Linked DNA regions of Homo sapiens: region 2 is linked to region 1. Evidence: promoter capture Hi-C in human tissues and cell types (Jung and others, 2019). All regions are on one chromosome and are shown on one strand. Each heading gives the region's core, a stretch centred on a gene start or on the middle of the fragment in contact. The rest is flanking DNA. Distances are from core to core; before and after follow the strand shown.

The links. The method cuts DNA at HindIII sites, captures the fragments that hold promoters and counts their contacts. A contact is called where the count stands out against the background at its distance.
Region 2: a fragment that was not itself captured here is called in contact with the fragment with the promoter of GMPS in region 1 in 1 of the 25 tissues and cell types used here (ovary).

What each region holds. Positions count from the first base shown.
Region 1 is chr3:155,866,942-155,872,907 of GRCh38, forward strand. It overlaps GMPS (guanine monophosphate synthase), which reads left to right and starts at 3,709. Exons shown (of 16, transcript NM_003875.3): 1 at 3,709-3,956. The coding sequence starts at 3,930. RefSeq lists enhancers at 3,154-3,203, 3,743-4,502 and a silencer at 3,344-4,563. The HindIII fragment of the contact is 29,940 bases long and covers 1-5,966 here.
Region 2 is chr3:157,137,315-157,143,280 of GRCh38, forward strand. It overlaps a transcript of CCNL1 not described here. Among named protein-coding and RNA genes, the nearest start is that of LINC00880, 17 kb to the left of the region's middle. The HindIII fragment of the contact is 4,382 bases long and covers 1,430-5,811 here.

The DNA of each region.
Region 1 (5,966 bases), core at 2,459-4,958:
CATCTTAACAACTAATATTTCTCATAAGTTTAAAAGCTAATTTTTTGTTAATGGGAGGTTGAAAATATTAAACATTTTGAAAGATGAAATAAGGTAACCATGTATTATTCCTGAAATACATATTTTATGACATGATACATACCAAATCTGAAACATTGTATGAAATTTCTATCTGTGGGTTTTAGCAACTGTATTTTGAAAAAATGTATTGGTCCTAGAAATCATACAATTGCATTTAAAGGACTCAACATCACTGTTCTATGCTGCCTACGTTTTTTGAATTCAAGGCAACTTTGTCCCTTAACAAAAATATTTATATGACAGGTAAAGAAGGAAGACCTTGTAGGTTTAAGCTGCCTCAATGTATCATTAAAAGAGACTTCCATTCAGCAGGCATGGATCTACAGGAACAACAACAACAAAAAAAGATTTCCAGACTTCTGCTTCTGTCAAAGAGGAGGTAACAGGGATTGGATTTACCCTCCTGCCTGAAACAAACAAAAAAACTCAGACAAAATATATGAAACAGGGCCGGGCACAGTGGCTCATGCCTGTAATCCCAGCACTTTGGGAGGCTGAGGCGGGAAGATCACTTGAGGTCAGAGTTCGAGACCAGCCTGGCCAACATGGTGAAACGCGGTCTCTACTAGTAATACAAAAATTAGCTGGGTGTGGTGGCACACATCTGTAATCCCAGCTACTCGGGAGGCTGAGGCAGGAGAATTGCTTGAGCCCAGGAGGTAGAGATTGCAGTAAGCCAAGATTGCACCATTGCACTTCAGCCTAGGCGACAAGAGTGAAACTCCATCTCAAAACAAATAAACAAAAAAAGCAATGACTGTAATTTAACACATTCAAAAACTGAAAAAAGAAAAACTATATAGTCATTTGAATAGCCACAGAGAAAGCATTTGACAGCATCCATTCTTGACCAAAACTCTCAGCAAAATAGGAACAGAAGGAAACTTCCTCAACTTGATAAAGGGCATCTATGAAAACCTACAGGTTATTGGTGAGAGACTGAATGTTTTCTCCCTAATAAGTGTCAGTGAGTAGCCAGGTATGATGGTTGGGGGGGGCCTGTAATCCCAGCTACTCGGGAGGCTGAGGCAGGAGAATTGCTTGAACCCAGGAGGTGGAGGTTGCAGTGAGCTGAGATTGTGCCACTGCACTCCAGCCTGGGCAACAAGGGCGAAACTCCATCTAAAAAAAAAAAGAAAAATAAAAAGTGAGTGTCAATAAGAAGTTTGGGAAAGAAGTTTTGTTTTGAACTTGTTGAGTTTGGGGCCTAATATGACACTGACAATTGAACTGAGGATGAATATAGTTATCTGGGTCTGGAGCACAGAACAGAGTTGTTAAAACATAGAGCATATTAAGGGTATTTTAACAAGTCCGTATTTTATTTATTTATTTATTTTGAGGTGGAGTTTCACTCTTGTTGCCCAGGCTGGAATGCAGTGGCACGATCTTGGCTCACTGCAACCTCCACCTCCCAGGTTCAAGAATTCTCCTGCCTCAGCCTCCCAAGTAGCTGGATTACAGGTGTCCACCACCACACCTGGCTAATTTTTTGTATTTTTAAGTAGAGACAGGGTTTCACCATGTTGGCCAAGCTGGTCTCGAACTCCTGACCTCAGGTGATCCACCTGCCTTGGCCTGTCAAAGTGCTGGGATTACAGGTGTGAGCCACCGCACCTGGCCAACAAGTCTGTATTTTTAAACAAGTGCTCCAAGGAAGAGTAAGATGAGAAAAGGATTAGGAATAGAAATACTGAAGAAATCCAACACTTAAAGCTCCTGAAGGCCAGACATAGGAAAAGGAGCTAGCAAAGGCAACCAAGAGCAATCACAGAGATAAAAAGACAACTTTTTGGTGCATTTTAAGGAAAATCCAGTTTCAACAAAGAGGGATGGGTCAATAGAGTCAGAAGCTAAAGAAGAAAGAATATCAGGATCCTATATTGTGTGCATGCCAACATTCTTAGCCATTAAGCACAGGTGACCACTAGAATTTATTTATTTATTTGTTTATTTTGAGATGGAGTTTCGCTGTTGTCACCCAGGCTGGTGTGCAATGGCATGATCTTGGCTCCCTGCAACCTCCACCTCCCGGGTTCAAGCGATTCTCCTGCCTCAGCCTCCCGAGTAGCTGGGATTATAGGCGCATGCCACCACGCCTGGCTAATTTTTGTATTTTTAGTAGAGACAGGTTTCATGATGTTGGCCAGCCTGTTCTGGAACTCTGACCTCAGGTAATCCACCCGCCTAGGCCTCCCAAAGTGCTGGGATTACAGGTGTGAGCCACCACGCCCAGCCTAGAATATATTTAAACTAAGCATTGTTTAAGATAGATGGGACTTAGCCAATCCTTAATGCCAGTATATCACATCACATTCCACTCCATTAGGGGTGGATGTTTATGTAAGTTGAGGTTCTCCTATTGGTTACTGCACTCTTCTTTAGATTGTGCATACAGACCTACCCAGAGAAGCCAGTATCCATGGCTTTGGAGAGTTCAAATATTCAATTTTCCGTTCAAAAAAAGGTAAGCGAAATACTTAAGTCTCAGGCCCACTAGGACCTTAAGCCTTTCGTTTTTGTAAATATTTCACTAATAAACTGTCTACACTTTCCCAGATTGGGCAGGCCTTACATTCTATATATACTGAGAGGCACATTATCTCACTAAGCCTCAATTTCCTCATTTGTAAAAAGGATAAGAACATCAATCCTACCTTACTACTTTCACGGGATTGGTTAAAGTTAGCTTTTAAAGTATTTTCTCACTCTGGCTCCTTAATACCCTAGCTACAGTCTGACACAAGAATGACTGCAGCAAAATGTTGGCTGTATTATAATAAAAATATTTGTGGAAAGGCTTTGTTAGCTGGAAGCCATCTCAAGTATTATTCTTTATACCCCAATCTCGATTTAGGCCTCTAGGTAACCAAATTCAAAGTAACACCTCATCATCATGATGGTTGCCAAGGGGTAGGTGGAGGGACTGCAGCCCCTTCCCCACAAACAATTCCAATAAAAACACTGTTGTGCAAACAGAGCTTCACGACCAGTTCCCTGGGCCAGCTGCTCACCAGATTACCACTCCCAAACTCCCTTTTCTTTGGAAATACTGCACCTGCTGTATTTGTGGGGAGCTGTATAACTTTTGAAGTATCTAAGTGATCAGTTCCTACAATGACATCCTTGAGATATGGCCACGGAACTTTCCAAAGCAGCCTTGGCCTCCTTCATGTCCAGCAACCTGAGATAAGGCCACGCCACCGGCTAAGAGTTCCGCCAGGGGCCCAGCTCTCAGGAGGCCTCTTCGGTGCCGCCAGCCTCCCGAAGTCATCCAAGGTAGCAGGCAAATCCGGCAGCAGCAAACTAGCTCGGATTCGGCTTCGGTTTTTCTCCTGGCCGGCGCCACAGGCCCCTCCTCCGGGGCGGGCTCCTCGGTGCGAGGGCAGGAGGGGCGGAGCCGGTGGATGCCGCGGGCTCCTCCTCCCAAGGGCGGGCCGCGGGAGACCCGGCCGGCTTTGCCGGCGGGGACCGGGCTGGGGGCGGGGCCGGGCGCCGCGAGCCCCTCCTCTCGAGGGCCGGCCGGTTTGGCGGCGGCTGCGGAGGGTATCTGAGGCTCGGCTGCCAAGCCGAACGGGCTCTGGCTCCTCCCAGTGGCCGGCCGGGGCGGAAGCAGGAGGCGGGGGCAGCGTGCGCGCTGCTGGTCTTCTCTCCCGCGGCGCTGGGGCCCGCGCTCCGCTGCTGTTGCTCCATTCGGCGCTTTTCTGGCGGCTGGCTCCTCTCCGCTGCCGGCTGCTCCTCGACCAGGCCTCCTTCTCAACCTCAGCCCGCGGCGCCGACCCTTCCGGCACCCTCCCGCCCCGTCTCGTACTGTCGCCGTCACCGCCGCGGCTCCGGCCCTGGCCCCGATGGCTCTGTGCAACGGAGACTCCAAGGTCAGCGTGGGGGTCCCTGCAGCACCGCATCCCGGCGGAGGCGAGGCTCCCGGACCGGGGAGCCACCCCGCGAGGCCCTTCCCCACCCCCTTCCCCCAGCCCGTCCGCGCAGCCCTGCGCCCCGGGCAGCCACGCGTCGTAGAGTCCCTGGTCGGGGCCTGTGGCATGTTTTATCTCGGGAGCGGCGATGCTTTGTTGATCTTGTCTGCGTGTCGAGGTCCGGGCGTCGGGGAGGGCATCAGCTCCCCGCGGCCGCGTCGCTGGCCCCCGCCTCCCCCGCGCCGCTGTGGGGCGCAGAGCCCGCGAGCGCGGCGCGAGGGTGGGGGTAGGGCGGCGAGCGGGCTTGTGTGTCTGCGTGTCGGGGTGGGGGCTTCCTCGGCTCCCACCCCGTCCCTCTGGGAGGCTGGGGGCCCGTTGTGGCGATCCCGGGGCCCGCCGAAGGCAGGGCAGGGTCGGGGCCTCCTGTGCGGCGTTGGAGCTGGGCCGGCCTCTGGTCTTCCCGCCACCCCGTTTCCCGCCTGCCCTCGGCGAGGCCCGCTCCATTCCCCCCGCCAGCCTTGGGCTCCGCGGCGGTTAGGCCGGTTCTGGACGAACCCCTCGGAGCTGCACTGTCTTCCCCCTCCCCCAACGCCCCTGCAGGCCCGCGTGAGGGCTGGTGGCCCCAGGGTCGCGCACTCCGTTCTCCCTCCCCGCTTCCTTCTCAGAGAGGAAAGGGTGTGTGTCCAGGTCCCGCCCCCGTCCAGCTTGCTCCCTGTCGAGCTTGCTGGTTTGCGGGGTAACCCGCTTCCCCGCCTTTGGGGTCCCTCCCCGGGACGCGAGCCGTGCCAGCTCGCCCGAGGCCTGGGCAGTCCGGAGTTCCGGAGTGCTGGAAAAGTTGCCGCCTTGACGTACCCGGCGGGGAGAGCACGTTTGACCGCTGCTGCTCATCTCTCCTCCAACTCACTTTTCTTAGACCGTTCCTCTTACTTTCGTCCCGCTTTTGAATTGGGCACCTTCGCTTTCACCTCTGTATTAAAATTTTCATTGGCCTGGAGTTCTTTCTGACCTTCACTAAGTCAGTTTTGCCAGCGGGAAACCGTGCAGTTTTGAATTGCGATTTACTTCATTAAGATACACCTCCTCTGTACGCTGTTGAGGGCCTAGCTTTAGGAAAAAACTTAATTAAATTTCATTCGGGGGGTGGGATTGTATACTTCGAGGTGGATTTGGTGCTCTACGTCAGATAGTAGTGCCTTGTTCAGGCAGAATTTTAACATTCTTTTTAAAAGGTGCTGCTCAAGGGTCACATCTTAGGAGGTCCTCTTGAATGGTTGCTTAGCACCCGGTAATCATTCAAAAAGTATTTGTCGAACAATGAGTAAAAGATTATAAGGTAGCTGATTTTAACTCTTTTAAACCAAGGCACCAGTGGTGCTTAGGTCCAGGGAGCTGTTAAGACACACAAACCTTTAGTTTCTGACCTAAGGAGCAAATGTAAACCCCATTGTCCAGCTCTTTCCCGATTACTAGTCGACTTGCAAAGCATTTTTCTGCCTAGTTTTGAGTCTTACAACTCATTGGAAAGATTCATCTTTATGCTGATAGATGAAATAACTGGTGTTAGAAGGACTGAAATTTAATTTATGGGCTTTGAAAAATATATAGTGCATTTGAGAGGAGTATTTTCACAAAACTAAGTGACAGAAAAGTATAAGATTTGTTTCCAGAGTATATAAGAGGATTTTTCTTTTTCCTAACTGGTATTTTTTCTTTGTTTTGCTCTAGTTGGAATGACAAAGATAATCTTATCAGTTTGCTATATTTGAGCCTAGGGTGAATTAATTTTATTTCAAGGTTCTTTATGTTTTATAGCATAATTAAACATTTTAAAAACTATGTTAACAATTAGTTGTGGACTGAATTGGAAGCATTTTCAAGAGGAACATCTGGAGAATTAATATATTTCATCAAATCTATGATTATTGTATGTACCCCTGAGGAAGAAAGTCCTGACAAACCATAACATGCCAG
Region 2 (5,966 bases), core at 2,371-4,870, 1.3 Mb after region 1:
AGAGGTCAAATGAGTTAATATATGTGAAGCAGAATGGCATCTGGCACATAGTGCTTATATAAATAAGGGTTGCTATCTATTCTTCTGCCAGCAGAATCTAGCAAAGGTATGTACCTTTAGAGTTATTGCCAAAGGTTCAAGTCTGGATTAAAGGCCTAAATGAGGCTTAAATGGATGTAGCTAAAGACATTAGTGTTCCTTTGTAAACAGACAAGCCTTTATTGTGTTCAGAATAAGGCTTGCCAGTCAGCTGAAGTAAAACTTAGAGCAAGATCTTGTATCACAGACAGCCAAAGAGTGACCTCTAGTGGCGTAGGTTCTTATTACTGACTATGCAAACTGAAAGGCGTTCAAGGAACCACAGATTGTAGGACTATGGAAACCGATCGTGCATGGGTGTCTTTGTCCGTTTGTGTAACTATAAAGGAATACATGAAGCTGGGTAATTTTTATTTTATTTTATTTTTGAGACGGAGTCTTGCTCTGTCACCCAAGCTGGAGTGCAGTGGCGCGATCTCAGCTCACTGCAAGCTCCGCCTCCTGGGTTCACACCATTCTCCTGCCTCAGCCTCTCGACTAGCTGGGACTACAGGCGCCTGCCACCACGCCCAGCTAATTTTTTTGTATTTTTAGTAGAGACGGGGTTTCCCTGTGTTAGCCAGGATGGTCTCCATCTCCTAACTTCGTGAATGGCCCGCCTTGGCCTCCCAGAGTGCTGTGATTACAGGCGTGAGCCACCACACCCGGCCCCAAAGCTAGGTAATTTATAAAGAAAAAGAGGTTTATTTGGTTCACGGTTCTTCAGGCTATACAAGAAGCATGGTACCCATCATCTGCTTCTGATGAGGGCCTCAGGAATCTTCCACTCATGGCAGAAGGCAAAGGGGAATCAGTGTGTACAGAGATCACATGGCAAGAGCAAAAGCAAGAAGACAGGAGGAGGTGCCAGTCTCTTTTTAACAAGTAGCTCTCACAGGAACTAATAGAGCGAGAACTCACTTACTACCTTGAGCATGGCACCAAGCCATGAGGGATCCACCCCATGGCCCAAACACCTTCCACCAGGCCCTGCCACCAACATGTTGGGTATCAAATGTTAACATGAGACTTGGCAGGGCCAAACAAACCATATCCAAACCACAGCAATGGGGAAGATCGTCCTGGACCAAAAGAAAAGTTGTTCTGGAAACTGCAGCCATGAGAAGCCCTATACATTGGCAAGGTAGTTATCCTGATCTTTGAAAGTTATTTCATCCCCTCTGACGCCAGTGCTGATATTCTCAAGAACTCATGTTCCCAAGAGCTTCTGGTTATACAGGTCTAGAGAAAGCACAAATGGTGTGAACCTTCTGGAAAGGTACACATGTGGGAAAAAGTCTTTAAAATATTCATCTTAAAGGTCACAGGAGGCCGAGTGTGGTGGCTCATGCCTGTAATCCCAGCACTTTGGGAGTCCAGGGCGGGCAAATCACGAGATCAAGATATTGAGACCATCCTGGCCAACATGGTGAAACCCCGTCTCTACTAAAAATACAAAAATTAGCTGGGCGTGGTGGTGCGCACCTGTAGTCCCAGCTACTCGGGAGGCCGAGGCAGGAGAATCACTTGAACCCAGGAGGTGGAGGTTGCAGTGAGCCAAGATCGCGCCACTGCACTCCAGCCTGGTGACAGAGCAAGACTCCATCTAAATAAATAAATAAATAATAAAGGACACAGGAACTATCTTAAAGGGGTTTCCATTGGCCACATCGGAATTTGAGTAACGAAATAATGATAGTAATGGATTATAACTTCATAGAATGAGTCCATACTGAAACATATAAACAAATGAATAAATGAAGGAGAAAAGAAAGCTCTTTCTTACAGTGGCATTCCAACTAATAAATGTCGAGCGAATGCTGAAATTTAAAAATCATTTTCAATAGTTATTTCAGGTAAAAATCATCAATGGATGCTAGAATTAGTAGGCAGAAGTTAATTAAGAAGCACTATTGATATTATCTAGGCTGAGTGCAGTGGCTCCCGCCTATAATCCCAGCACTCTGGGAGGCCAAGGTGGGTGGATCACCTGAGTTCAGGAGTTTGAGGCCAGCCTGGCCAACATGGCGAAATCCCATCTCCACTAAAAATACAAAAAAAAAAAAAAAAAAAAAGCTGGGTGTGGTGGCAGGCGTGTGTAATCCCAGCTACTTGGGAGGCTGAGGCAGGAGAATCACTTGAACCCAGGAGGTAGAGGTTGCAGTGAGCCCAGATCATGCCACTGCACTCCAGCCTGGGAGATGGAGCAAGACTCTGTCTCAAAAAAATAAATAAAAAACAAAAGAAACAATATTTATATGATCTAAAGTATCTCCCCCAAAAGCTACTTGTTAATTACAAAGTGTAAAATAGTAACTTTTTAATAGAGAACACTGGCAGACAGCACCTTAACCAATGATCATAGTTAACACCATTGGTTACTGGGGCAAATTAACACTGTGCCTCCTAATGAGGCACTGAGGACACAACCTGGCTTCTGTTGTATTTCTCCTGCCAAAAACACAGAACCCAAATCTAATCACAAAAAAAAAAAAATAGGGCAAACTCAAATTAAAAAATATTCGACAGAACCATCAGTTTACAACAGGGGTGTCCAATCTTCTGGCTTCCCTGGGCCACATTGGAAGGATTGTCTTGGGCCACACATAAAATACACTAATACTAACAATAGCTGATGAGCAAAAAAAAGAAAAGAAAAGAAAAATCGCAAAAAAGTATCATGTTTTAAGAAAGTTTGCGAATTTGTGTTGGGCCACATTCAAAGCCATCCTGGGCTGCATGCGACCCATGGGCCGTGGATTGGGCAAGTTTGGTTTTCACTCTTTAAAAATGTCAAGGTTATGAAAGCAAAGACAGACTGAGGAACAATTACAATGAAAAGAGACTAAAAAGATTACGACTAAAGACAATGTATGATTCTAGGTTGGATTCTGGACCAGAAAATAGGGCACTAGTAGGAAAATTGGCAATATTTGATCAATAGATCAATATTTGCAATATTGGCAATGTCTGGTCGATAGATTACAGTATTGGTCAATATGTTAAATTCTCTGACTTTGGTAATTATATTGTGGATATGTAAGATAACGTCCTTGTTTTTAAGTAATATATACTGAAGTACTTACAGGTAAAGAAACAATGACTGCAACTTACTCTCGAGCAGAGCAGAAAAGACACCACAAAAAGTGAAAAAGCAAGTGTGGTGAAATGTTAACATTTGGTGAATCTGGGTGAAGGATATATAAAATTTCTTCACACAATTTTTGCAACTTTTTTGTAAATCTGAAATTATTTCAAAATGAAAATTTCTTTAAAAGTCCACTTCAGGTTCTTTATTATTTTTCTTATGTCACTGAAAAGGGTTGACTAGTGTCTCCCCAAAATTGATGTCCACCTAGAACCTCAGAATGTAATCTTATTTGGAAATAGGGTCTTTGCAGATGTACTTTGTTAAGATGAGGACATACTGGGTTAGGGCAGGCCCTGGTATCCTTAGAAGACATACACATACAGAGAAAAAGGCCATGTGAAGATGGAGGCAGAGACAAGTGATGCAGCTACAGGCCAAAGAAAACCAAGGATTGCCGGGAACCACCAGAAACTACAAAGAAACAAGGGTGGACTTAGAGAAAGCATGGCCCTGCTGTCATCTGGATTTCAGACTTCTAGATTCCAGAAATGTGAAGGAGTAATTATTTGTTGTTTTAAGCTACCAAGTTTGTGGTAATTTGTGACAGCAGCCCTAGGAAACCCTAGGAATTACAGTCACCCACTTTTAAAACAATGGCGCTCTGGTCTACAAGACGCCATAGTCTGGCATCCTCAAGTGTCTGAAGATGCTAATAATGATAACGTTTATTGGACATTTACACACCTAACACTGTGTTAAGTGTATTATATACATTATTTCCTTTAACCTTCATATCTGAATACACTAGGCTTAATTACTAACTCATTACAGAAGGGAACATGGAAGCTTAGAGTGGTTAAGTAAGATGTGTAAGATTGCACAGCTAATAGAGGATGTCAGCATTGAACACCATCTCTTGGGCCTCTTCCTCTTTGTCTTTCTTTTTTTCTTTTACCCTGAAACAGGGTCTTGCTGCTGTTGCCCAGGTTGGAATGCAGTGGAACAATCATAGCATACTACAGTCTTGAACTCCCGGGCTCAAGCGATCCTCCTGTATCAGCCTCCCAAGTAGTTGGGTCTACAGGTGCACCACTATGCCAGGCTTCCTCTTTGTCCTTTAAAACCTTCTCCCATCCAAAGTGCAGCCCACATTCCCTGTCCTCTAAAAATTTTCCAGGGCCTTCTAGGCCACAGTGGTCCATCTTTCTTCTTTAAACTTGGCACTCATTGTACTGTTGCTTGGCTCTAAAATATACTGAGGATTATTCTGGATGTCATTTGGCTTTTTAAAACATTGTCTTTGCCTCCAACTGAATATTAATTACATGCAGGTATGTGCCACGTATCTAAGCATTGAGACTTCACCTACCCTTATTTCTCTAGGTAGAAACCTATCATTATAGTCCTCATCAGATTATATGCAAGTAGATGCTTGACATTTGCAATTTGACTGTTTTCAAATAAGTTGGAAGTTTATCTGAGACTCTTGATTTCAATTGCGTGTGTAAAAGAAGTCAGCTAGGGGCTGAGAGCCCGGCTAATCAATTTAAATGTGGCTTTATTTGTTCATTGTTGGTCTATGTTGTATTAATTTTTGTTAAATGACTAAAATTTGGTTTGAAAGGTCCATGAAAATAACACATCTGGGGCAGAAAATCATTTTGGGCAAGAAATTAAATTTTGTAATTTAGGGTGGAAAACTGAGCCTCACAGTGAGATTTATGTGCCGGGCCCTCTGTACAAAGATATGATGTGTCATGTGCTCTGTTAAGTGCTCTAGCAGTGTAAAAGTCACTGAAGTGAGAAATTCGTTTGAAAAGGTTTAGCTATATGGTGGTTCACTACTGATTTGGGGCACAGAAAACAATCTGATTTAACTGACCCAGGAGCCTAGTCAAACAATGCCACATTCACAGATTTGGTGATTCACATTGTCTTGGAATATTCCGTGAGATATCAGGTGTCAAGAGCCAAGTAAGTAACATCAATGAGCAAAAGGGCAGAATTCAAGAAAATAGCATCAGCACACTGATACCTGCCAACTGACACCTGCACCTGGCTTCAGTGTTACACAATTAACAGGGGGTGGAGGGAATCGTCACGCACTGCAGCATGCAGCCTCACCCGGATGGCTACTGGATGCTAGTTAACTGTGGCCTGGAGTATTGTGGATCTCATGTTTTTTTTGTTGTTGTTGTTGTTGTTGTTTTAAGTCTCGCTCTGTAGCCCAAGTTGAAGTGCAATGGCACGATCTTGGCTCTATGCAACCTCCGCCTCCTGGGTTCAAGTGATTCTCCTGACTCAGCCTCCCGAGTAGCTGGGATTACAGGCATGTGCCACCACGCCCGGCTTTTTTTTTTTTTTTCAACAGTCTTGCTCTGTCACCCAGACTGGAGTGCAGTGGCACGATCTCGGCTTACTGCAACCTCCACCTCCTGGGTTCAAGCAATTCTCCTGCCTCAGCCTCCTGAGTAGCTGGGATTATAGGCACCCGCCACCATGCCTGGCTAATTTTTTGGTATTTTTAGTAGAGATGAGGTTTCGCCATGTTGACCAGGCTAGTTTGGAACTCCTGACCTCAAGTGATCCGCCCACCTCAGCCTCCCAAAGTGTTAGGATTACAGGCATAAGCCACAGTGCCCAGCCGTATTTTTATTTTTTAAGAGCAGCTAGAAGTCTAGGTTTTTAATGTAAACATTTCCAATTAAAAAATATTATCAGCCAGTTCATTTATAACAAACATTGTACAACTCAAACAAAATACATGTGCAGGCCAGGATTTGGCTCAGGGCCCACC